Linked DNA regions of Homo sapiens: region 1 is linked to region 2. The links are contacts of gene promoters, found by promoter capture Hi-C in human tissues and cell types (Jung and others, 2019). All regions are on one chromosome and are shown on one strand. Each heading gives the region's core, a stretch centred on a gene start or on the middle of the fragment in contact. The rest is flanking DNA. Distances are from core to core; before and after follow the strand shown. Region 1 holds the start of TRC-GCA16-1 (tRNA-Cys (anticodon GCA) 16-1). Region 2 holds the start of ZNF746 (zinc finger protein 746).

Evidence for each region. The method cuts DNA at HindIII sites, captures the fragments that hold promoters and counts their contacts. A contact is called where the count stands out against the background at its distance.
Region 1: a fragment that was not itself captured here is called in contact with the fragment with the promoter of ZNF746 in region 2 in 1 of the 25 tissues and cell types used here (liver).

The regions. Positions count from the first base shown.
Region 1 is chr7:149,544,711-149,550,286 of GRCh38, forward strand. TRC-GCA16-1 (tRNA-Cys (anticodon GCA) 16-1) reads left to right here and starts at 1,830; the gene lies at 1,830-1,901. It also overlaps the pseudogene ZNF767P. The HindIII fragment of the contact is 7,807 bases long and covers 1-5,576 here.
Region 2 is chr7:149,493,555-149,499,247 of GRCh38, forward strand. ZNF746 (zinc finger protein 746) reads right to left here and starts at 4,255. Exons shown (of 7, transcript NM_001394198.1): 1 at 3,959-4,255; 2 at 650-949; 3 at 435-561. The coding sequence starts at 3,982. RefSeq lists enhancers at 579-1,778, 2,573-3,516 and silencers at 3,650-3,709, 3,950-4,619. The HindIII fragment of the contact is 4,774 bases long and covers 2,877-5,693 here.

The DNA.
Region 1 (5,576 bases), core at 1,949-4,448, 50 kb after region 2:
TTCCCAACTCTTTATTTTCCCACATAATTTTTAACATTAGTGTGTCAATTACTATAAAAATCACTATTAGGATTTTGATTGCAATTGCATTAAATCTGTAAATTTGGAGAGCAGTATCTTTACAAAATTGTCTTGTCCTATCCAAAAACAAAGCATACTTCTCTACTTATTTAAGTACCCTTTAAATATTTCAATGAAGCTTTAAAATAGTCTAAACAAAGGTCTTGTACAACTTGTATTTATTCCTAGGGAGCCTGTATTTTTGTTACTCTGTTAAGAAATTTCATTTCTGTTACAGGTGTGTGGAAATATATTTGATTTAAAATAAGTTTATTGTATAACTTATTTGAATTTATTAAAATTAATAATTCAGATAATTTGTAGATTACTTTGTGTTTTCTATATAACCACAGTGTCACTGAAATAATGGGTGTTTTGTTTCTTCTATTCCACTGAAAAACCCTACTTTTTTGGTCTTAAATGCACTACCTCTAGCTTTTGGTGGTTTTAAATAGAAACAAAGCTACCACGCATCTTTGTCATTTCCAGTTTTTAAGAGAATGCTTCTAACGTTGCACCATTAAGTATGACGGTTGCTGGTTGTAGACTTTTGGACTTTTTAGAGTCTTATTGTTTAACAAGAAGAATTTTAACATGAGGATTTCTTTTAATTCCTTCCTTGCCTTTTCCCTTTCCAATAAGAGAGGACCATTGTTGGGGGAGCCAGAAGACCGAGAGAGTAGCCAGTGACAGAGCTCCACGTGTCTGTGAATTGGCTCATCTCCTCCAGCAAGAAAGATGGAATCTGAGCTCAGAAGAGTATGCATGCTCAGGTTTGGAGAACTGAACACCAAATAGCAACAGAGTTCATTTGACTGGTGCTACCTCAAGTAATTTATATTAACTCTATTCTTAGTTATTAACCTTGCCAATTTTGCTGTCTTTACTTCCCCCAATAAATATTTATTGCATCCCAACTTTTATGCTCAATATTGTGTTTGGCACTGTAGAAAGACACAAAGAGATTGCATTTTCCTTTGTGAGCCTCTGTGCATTCTGAGCTTTGGTCTCCGTGACAGTTATCACAGGCACTGCCACCATCTCATGTGACCCTTTGGGTGGGTGTCCTTTCTCTACATTTTTGAGATCTGTATGGCCTTTTAATGTCAGAAGTGGCCTTAATGTAGGATGTTGGCCAAGGGCCAGGTTCACTTTGCAGGACCTGTGGTGCTGTGCCTCAGGGCAGGGGTCTGCCCAGCAGAGGAGACATTTCTGGTCCTTGCTGCTTCAGTTGTGCTTCTAGCCTGAGGCCCCTTGGGACAGCTGGGGAAGCTTCCTGAGCTCCATGATGGGATTCAAATAATTCGAATTATTGGTATGGGCTTTCCTGGGTTCAGTCAAGACCATGCAAAAAACCAAGAATAGTTGACATGAGAATAAAAAGAGAGGAGATGAGCAGAAAAGCCCCCAATTCTATCCACTGGGGTAGGGGTGAGGGTGGAAAGAAGGGACGTGGGGACACATTCAAGTTAGTGGACTTTAAGGAGGAGATGAAGGAAGAAAGGAGTGGCCCTGCTCTTGGCAATGATTCTTCAAGCAGGTGTCTTGGAAGTGGTCCTAAGACGAGATGGAAGTGAGCTGAGGAGGCTTCTAGGGGACCAAGTAGGGAGGGATTAATAAGGAAGAAGAGGGCCAAAAGGGCTAATTTGCTGTGAGGCAAAATGTCCAAATCTCTAAAACTTTCTAAGAGTCAACGTAAATTTCAGTGCATAGATGTGAGTGTTGCAACATAGGTGAAAAGGTATTTAGTAGAAACTCCTAGAAGCTGAGGGGGTATAGCTCAGGGGTAGAGCACTTGACTGCAGATCAAGAAGTCCTTGGTTCAAATCCAGGTGCCCCCTGGAAAGAGTCTCTTTTTAGTACCACATACCAATTGGTACCTTTAGGTTGCCCCAGGTCCTATGGCAGGTTGAGGGGAGGTTCCTGGGAAGGAAGTGGAGGGAGAAGAGATGGAAAGGAATCTAGTCATCCTTTGGGCTGCGGCAATGGAAAGTCCCAAAACTAGGAATGTGGTTCTAGCTATGATCTTGTTATTAAGGTGATGTGTGAACTCATGCAGGCCTTTAGTCTTTGTTTTTTCTTTCAGGCATATAACATGCAAGTATAGACTAAAATCAAAGTTGCCAAACATGTCTGAGAACCAGAATGACCTGGGAGGGTGGTCAAGTATACAGATGCCTTGGGTCCCACCTTGAGATTCTGATTTGTTAGGTGTGAGGTTTGATTTTTCTTTCTTTTAATCTTCCCACATCACAGAAACACCAGATGATCTCCTGGGCCGCAAAATTCAGCAAACACTTAGGAAGCAGATTCACCACGTACCAGTTATTAATCTGCAGTTTGTACCACTTGCTCGAGTCCAGTGATGCAGAACACTCACACAGCAAGTTAAGCAAAGCAACTTTATTCCTTACAGGCAGGCAAGGGACAACAGAAGCCTGGGATGTAGGGTGAACTGGTCCCCCAAGGCTCAGGAACCTGCCCAGGGCAGATGGAGTCTCACCTGTGTGTCCCACTTCACACTGCAGCTGAGGGACCCTGAACGCCCTCTGCTGTCAAGTTTTATACCCCAAGGGCAACTTGGATCATTGGGCTAAAGCGTTGCAGGACATCCTGTTCTAGGTGTGATGGGAACAGAGTCCAGGTTTAGGACAGTTCCTCCTTATCTCAGGACAACACTCCCAGTACATTCTCTAGTTATTCTGAGAACTACAACCAAGAAAAGAGGGAAGCACCGGGTTGGCCAAGGCCATCCGGAGACTTGTCCTGCTGGGTCATTTAAAAAGCTTTTCTAGGATAACGTTGGCTTTCCAAGTGGTTTTCCAAGCTGATGTCTTTCCCACTGAGGAGAAGCTGTAGGCCTGTGGACTGCCAGGTAGGAGGAGGTTGAGGTTTAGAGGAAAGAGGAGAGCAGGAATGGGTTGTTTGCAGTGGGGCTGTTCCCATGGACTCACCAAGAAGAAATCGAGGTGCTGATGGGGCTGCACAAGTGCTTATCAGAAACAGCTGTAACAAGTGAGGGGTGCAACTGAAGGTACAGCATTTGCCTGCAGGCCAAGCGGTCTCTGGTTCAAATCCATGTGCCTCCCACCCCCCTTCAGTTTTCTACTTATTGAACAAAAGCCTTTTCACCTCGGGTCTATTATACTGGAATCTTCCTGCAAGGAGAGAAGAGAGGATAGACAGCATAGAGCTTTGCCAGGAAGCCTCTCTAGTTTCTTGTAGGCCCCAGTGAACTTCTCCAGGCGACTCTGTCCCCTCATTAACCCTTATCCTCAGAGCCTTGAAATGGGCCCAATTGTCCCATAGAACTGATGTTTATGGTTTTTCTTGAATAAACCTAGAAATTGACCCTCTCAGTCTTGAAACCCAAGGAGAAATTTACATTTATGTCATCTGAATTCCTTTCTCAGGAAACCAGCCAGCAATCCTCCCAGACGGTATCAAGAAACTGAAATTTACCAGATCCCCACATCTGGAAAGTGAGAAGCCAGACCCCTCACCCATCATGATTCCCCAGGTGACCACCTGCTGCCTGTTGGCCAACTCCTCTTCCTTGCCCCTCGTTAATCCCTGTTTTCCCACATGTAGTTACATTTCTTCCCTGCTATATAAACCCCTAATTTTAGTCAGTTGATGATGATGGATTTGAGACTGATCTCTTGTTCACCCTGTCTGTAGCACCTGGATAAAGCCTTCTTCCCTGACAATACTTGTCTCAGTGACTGGCTTTCTGTGAGATGAGCAGCAAGACCTAGATGGAACCCCTGGTGTTTCCGCAACAGCCTTGCAACTTTCACTTTCCCTGTGGGAACGCTCATCTCGGCCATCCCCTGGAAGGGCGGGTAGGGAATTGACTCCTCTGGAATCCTCACCCCCAGGGACTGTGTAGCATAGGGCCTTGCCTGGAGCAGGTCCCATGGCTGCAGCTGCTCCACCCTGAGCTGCTCTGGCAGGGTCTATACAGAGTGAAGGAACTAAAGGAAGAGCGGTGAGGAGGGCTCCTAAGTGGCACAATGACTGCCAGGAAGTGGCTGTTATAGGCAGGGGTTTGCAAGCTACTTTTAGTCAGGAGGCCCCACACTATGCCCTGGGGCTACTTCCCTGCCCCTTCTGTGTTTATGAAGCCCCAGTATCTGCTTCATAAACACCAGATGTGCATGTGGGGGGCATCTGTCTCCCACCTGAGCAGAGGCTCCCAGTGCCCACTGGGGTGAGTGAGCTGCAACGTCTTCTCAGGGAGGTGAACAAGGTGAAATGCTGTAACACTGACTGTTGGAATCTGGGAGAAAGACTGAAAGAGGCAGTGGTTTCCCCTGTGTCTGAATGAGTGCTCAATTATTCCTTGTGGCAGCATCCCGCGGATGATCAGTTGTTGCTTGCGGGCTTTGTTATTTCAAGTCAATAAAACCACATCCTTACCAATAGGGAGACATCTATTCAATTCCCTTCTGCAAGCGGTATCAGACTTCCACGTGTGGGTTCGCTGCCTCGTTTTATACTAGTTGAAATTCTTATTTGGGACTCGGGGGACCTCTCTTGCCCAGCATGCCCTGCTGGGCTCACTCCATTCGGTCTCTCCATGGAGTTAAAAGCAACAACAGCTAAAAGCAAAGATCCGAAACAAACAAAAAATAATAATTACTTTTTAAACAAAGAAAAAAAAAGCAAAGATGTGAACCCAATTCTGCTTAATCCCTAGCAGATTTTTTCTCCCTGAACAAGAGTATAACAGTCCATAATAACATAATTGTAGCTGCAATCTGCTTACTCCCATAAAATATTAGCCTAAGAGACAAACACTGCCACTTTCTAAGGTGCAAGTCAATTTCTTTTCAAGTTTTGAAGAGTGTAGAAGTTGGAGCCTCATGTAGGAAGCCTGGCCTTGCTCTTGCAGTGCTACAGGCAGGAGCCGTGCAGGCAGAAGGAGCCTCAGCAGAGGCCAGCATCAAGTGCGGGTCCTGGAGTGCCTGAGGACGGGGAGCGTGGGGAGTGGAGCAGGGAAGGTGGTGCAGGGAGTAGCAGGGGAACAGGATGCTAAAGATGGAAGGGCTTTATAGTCACCACACAGAATTTGGTTCCATGCAATGCAGCTCAGAGCTACCCTCCGTCCTTTTTCAGCTCTCCAGACTTCTTTTTCCCCTATGACTTCTACCCACCAACTTGCAGTCAGAAATGCGGATATAACTTTTGACTCCCCTGAAATGTAACTACTAATAGCCTACTGTTGACTGGAAGCCTTTCTGATAACATAAACAGTCAATGAACACATATTTTATATGTTCTATGTGTTATATACTGTATTCTTAAAATAAAGCTAGAGAAAAGAAAATATTAAGAAAATCATAAGGGAAAATTTATTTCCTATGGAATAAGTAGAAGTGAAGTGAATCATCATAGAAGTCCTAATCTTTGTCATCTTCACAGAGTAGGCTGAAGAAGAAAAGAGGGGTTGGTCTTACTGTCTTGGGGGCAGCAAAGATAGAAGACAATCTGTCTGTTAAGTGGACCCACAG
Region 2 (5,693 bases), core at 3,005-5,504:
GCTGCAAGCAGCACCGTCTGCCCATGTTCTCCACTGACCTCGAGGCATGTTGCCGTAAGGGCCACGCATGTTTGTAGGAGAAGGCTGAAGGAAAGAGTCTTTCTCAAATGTGAGTCAATTACATACTGGATCTGAGAGCAGATGGGGCCTTCCCCGCTCCAAGTCAGCAAGAACAGAAAGGTCCACATCCCGGGCCTGCGTAGGAGAGAAGCCACCGCCGTTCCCAGACTGGCATTCTGGGAAACTCAACACAGGGAGAAGGGAGCTTTTAACTCCATCACCCAGGGCTCATCCTTCACAAAAGGTAACAACTTGCAAGGTCAACAATGTTTCTGGTGATTTATATAACACTGACATGAAAACAACTATGTGGAGGGAGAATTCTGAGGACTTGCAAAATCCCATTTAACAGAGAAATGAGTGTCAGGCCTTACCCAGGGAGACCAGCGTCTCGTAGTTGCCCCTCATCACGTGCTTGTAGAGCTCCTTCTGCCAGTCCTCCAGCTTGCCCCACTCCTGCTCGGAGAAATACACGGCCACATCATCAAAGGTCACGGGCACCTGGAACCACAAGTGTCACACTCGCTCACCCACACGCTCACGGGTTTGGCCGCTTGGGCTCCCACACCCCAAGGCGTCCCAGGGCTACCTTAGGGGACTCCCCCTTGCTGCCCGGGGGCAGCCGCAGGATCCAGAAGTTCCTGTTGCGCAGCAGGTTCTCCACGTTCTCCAGCCGCCTCTGCAGCAGCCCGTACTCCTGCAGCAGGGTCCCCAGCACGGCCCACTTGCCCTCCAGCTGGTTCCCGAACTCCACGGCTGTCTTCTCGCAATCAGCCAGCTTCTTCTCGGCCATCCCGGTTCGACCTTCTAGGGAAAGCAGGCGAGCAGCCTGCGATTCAATCTTCCTCTCCATGGCCTGAATCGTGGCTGCCATCGTCCACGGAGAAATCTTTCAGAAACAAAAGAGAAACTGGCATCACTCATTCCATCCACTGTCTTCATTGAGCCCCTCTCTCCCTAGGCACGGGGGAGTTGGGCTGGGAGTCCATATGTGTGGACAAGTGGGGCTATCCTATACCACATGCCAGATCTCAGGTTGGCCATCACCTGCTTGGGTATGTTAGGTCTATGTCTGGGTGGGTGCCTTTACTCCAGGCCTCTGCAGCACAATGCAGACCCTTATCACGGTGCTTATCACCCTACACAATAATTTCCTACCCACACCTACACTGTGGGCTCCCTGAACATGGTATTGCATCTTTTCATACCACTGTCCTTGACACATGGCAGGTACCCAGTGCAATTTTGTTACGTAAACAGTGACTTAGCATTGCTGGGCATTTTAGTGGAGAAATGGTAAACTGCAGATTTACTAGAGCGCAGCCTGCACCTCCCCTCATGATTACACAGGAACTGTCTACTGATGATGACCCAGCAAAAAAAACAGCTGGTTCACTGAAACGGCACAAACAAGAGTATTGCTCAATTTCTTTTTTCTTTTTTTGTTTTTTAAAGCATCTCATGTCCCCTTTTAACAAACATAAAAATCTAATGGCCAGTTCCTCTTCCCCCAGGACAGTCTCATTTTGTCACCTTCCCATCTGCCCCTCCCCCACAAGCTAAAATCCCCATGACTGCAAATCTCCATCAGTCCAGAGTTAGGCTTTTTGACACTGCCTGAGCCCTACAAGATTCTTTCTCTTTCCCAATTCCCACCCCCTCAAGGTAAAAATGACGGCCTCCGACATTTTTGTAGCTGTACCAGGAGCAGTGACATACCCTGCAGTCTGGTGAGGAAAGTACATATATGCCACAGTTAGACTTGTATATGGACAGCAACCATCTTAATTAGAGACGGGGGCCTTCCCTGTCATTGGAAATGTTCACATGGCGTATCAGTGACCGGCAGCTGGGACAAGGAAGAATGGGCACATTTTGCGGTGGGTAGGGAGCTGGACTGTTTGAGCCACCCACATCTGAATGTGGGACCTACAGGGCACAGAGGAGCTCCTGGTATCGGGACCTGAGGATCAACGCCTCCTTACAACATTCTGCAAAATAATTCCTCAACAAAAGGTTGGTGATTATTTCCAAAATGAAGAAGTAGCTACTAGAAACCAGTGTGGATTCACTTAGAGAAAGTCACTGAGAACTAGAATGCGGATGGACAGCTCAAAAAATAGAGACAAAAGGAGAGTTTGAGCAGAGGGAGAAACAAACTTGTCTAGGACAGTGCTTAAGATACTATCTATTTGGAAGGAAGCAGGACCCAAAGAAGGTAGGACTCTAAGGGGTCTTCAAGGCTGGGAGATTCTGGACAAGCTGAACTGTTTCTAGGCGAAAACCCCAATGCGGGTGGGAGTCTTGCTCTCAAGGAGTAGGTGGTCCTACAGCACCTGGGTGGGCCAGCGTGGTTCTGGGCTTGAGTCCACCCTCCACCTAAGGCCACTGTTCCTTCCCTCACCTCTCCTTTCTCAGATCAATCCCTGTCACGTGATCCCAGACGCCAAGAGTTTACTCCAGAAGCTTCCTTTCAACTGGTCACCAGCTCCTTATCCACTGAAATCCTACCCATCCTCCACGTGCATTATTATGGGCTTTGTGTGGCATGAAAGGGACCTCTGCTAAACTACTTTATTAAGAAAATATTAGTCTTTTACTCATGGACAACAAGGTGCATGGTTTTCTTACAGTTCTGATGGGGCCAGGAAACCCTGTGTAAGGTCTTCACACTATGTGGTGGGAGGTGGCGACTGTGCGCTGCTCACTCCAGCCCAGCTTCTTACTGACAAGTGGCTGGAATATGTGGGGCTGTCCTTGGACTCCTGCCAGGGGAGCTGAAACTCTTTGCTTGAGAGGAGCTGATGGTAAGAGGAGCCGGATCCCTCATCCACTGCCCACCCGCAGGATGAAGTCCAGGCATGCAAACCCCTTCTTAGTCTCTCTCTGCAGACTCCTTTCCCACTGCCTCCAAACCAAAACCATCTTCTCCAGGCTCATGGACTCCTTTCTGTGCCTGCACACGCCCTGCACTGTCCCGTCTCTCTGCGCCTTTGCCCAGGCACTCCTCCCTCCCTGAAAGCACCACCGGTCTAGCTGGGCCTGAAATCCTAGCCTTCCCTAAAAGCCCGGCTCAAATCACAGAGGCGCAGAGCATCAGGCCAGGAGGGGTGGACAGCGGTACCAAGAGGCCCCCTGACACTCCTTCCCCCGGAGCCCACCGCAAGCTTCCACCTGGGCGCCAGCACTCACCCCTTTCTGTTTTGCACGATTATTGCCCGCGTACCTGCCTGCCTGGTCCTTGAACACACAGCCACTGTGTGTCTTTTCACACTTTCCAGCTGGGTAAGCCTGGGCAAGTTAAGTTCTCTAGGCCCCGGGTTTTTCTTTTGTATGACAGAGATTAACACCAGTACCCATCCCACAGGCTTGCTGTGAGGACAGACTAACGCCTCAACAGGGCTTGTGGAAGTGCGTGGCTCTATATTCCCTTCCGCGCCGACCCCGGGAAGCTGGGCACGTAGTGGGAGTCGGTGTATGCGGATTCGAAGCCGGACACCTCCCAGGTGCCACCAGGCCGCTGCGGGGGAGATGGAGAGGGACCTACAGGCCGAGCGCCAGGCAGAGAAAGGAGCCGCGGGTGGGGGGGCACCCAGAAGGAGGGGACAGCGGCTGGGGCGGGGGCAGGAAGCCCCGGAGGGCCCAAAGAACTTGGCGTGGGGCGGCCCGGGGCGGGGACAACCGTTCCGCCAGCGCTCGGGTTCGGCTCGGAGTGGGGGCCCGGCCGACGGGCGCAGTAGGCCCCGGCGGACCCCGCGCCCCATTCGCGGGAGCCCCAGGCCCGGTGGTCCGGCCCGGACCCCGGAACCCCTCCCCAGGGCCTGCGGCGCCGTGTGCCGGGGCCGGGCCGCCTGGGGCCCCCAGGCCGCGAGTCCCTGCGCGCGCGGGTCGCCCTTACCGGAGCCGCGACCGCCTCGGCCATGGCCCTGCGCTGTCCCGCCCGGCCCGGAGGAAGTCGTCGTCGCCGCCGCCGCGCGCGGCACCACGCAGGCCCGGCCGCCCGGTGCTCTCCGCAGGCGGCGCCTGCCTGGCCTTTCCTCTGCCGCCGCTCCTCGCTGGCTGCCCCTGCGCCGCGCCGCCCGCAGTCGCGCCGCCTCCGTCAGCGCCCGGCCGGTCCACACTGCATCCTGGGAGCCGGCGCCGCGGCCCGGCAGACGAAGGCCCGTGAGGCTTCCTGGAGGCAGCGCGGCCGCACAGCCCCACCTGCAGCCTGAGAGGCGAACGGCAGGCGCTGCGCCCGCCTGCCCGCGGCCCCGCCCCGCCCCGCCCAGCCCCGCCCGCGGGGCCCGACGGGAGGACCTAGCGACCCCGGGCCGACCCCGCGACCCCGCGACCCCGCGACCCCGGCCGGACTGCCGAGCGCGGGGGGAGTCACTGCGCTGGCCCCGCGGCCCAGCCCGAGGACTCGGTTATTGAAAGGGTCCCCCTCATGGGACCCGCCTGGCCGCGCCCGCGGGCGAGCACGGGCTTCCGGGCAGGGCGTCCCCCGGGTGACCGCGGCCAGGGCGGCCCCCTCGCCCTGGGATGCCCGGCTCCCCTTCCCCCGCCCCACGGGCACTTCTGCTGCCCGAGGTCCTGGGTCTGGAGGTTTAGGCTATTTTGGGGAGGACAGATGTAACTCATGCCCACCTGTGTTTGAAATGGAATAAATACTTCCAACAACAGGAATATAGTTCGGTAAACCCCGGTAGGCAACCACTTAGCATTTTCTGTAATGGGTTTATTACAGTAAATTTTTTTAATGGCATGAGCAATGGGACGCAATACCATCATTTAAAATGATTTCGGTGAAGGTCTTGGTAGGAACAGATGTTCATGATGTTTTAAGAGAAAAAGCCTGTCCAGGACGATCCTGTCTTTGTTTTAAAAATAACATTTTAAAACAATATAGGACATATGTAGCGTCATATACTGCGTACATGTATAATTACAGTTTTGAAAAGTTTGGAAGCATATATATCAACATGGCCTCAGTAGTTCTATTAAAGGTCTATTCCTTTAATAGACCACGGGCCGTTTTTATGCCTTTTCTAATTTTTTCCAATTCATGTTTTTATTTTTCCATGACAAGGATAGTATTTTTAAACAAGGAGAGAAAAATAAAAATTTAAATGTTCTCAAAGAGGCCAACCAGAGCAGGGGAAGGAGGGCGCCTTGGACGGGCCCCCACGTAGTTTCAGAGGCTCATTGCCTTTCAGGAACACGACTTGCTCATCTGTGTATTCCCCAAGACTAACTAGCCAACTGCCTAGCACACACTGATAAGAAAATATGTGAGAGATCTGTAATCTTTTTCAAAGAAGGCAGACCTTACAGAATAGATAAAATTTGAGCTGGATCTTGAAGAATTGGCAAAATATTGATAGGCAGAGAGCATTTCAGACCAGAGGGTGGTAGTAGAGGTGTGAGCTGGATGACAGCCCAAAAAAAAATTGATGTAGGAAGATATAAAGCATTTTAGGGCCGGGCGCAGTGGCTCACGCCCGTAATTCTAACACTTTGGGAGGCCAAGATGGGTGGATTGCCTGAGCTCAGGAGTTTGATACCAGCCTGAGCAACATGACAAAACCCCGTCTCTACTAAAAATAGAAAAAATTAGCGAGGCGTGGTGGCACGCACCTGTAATCCCAACT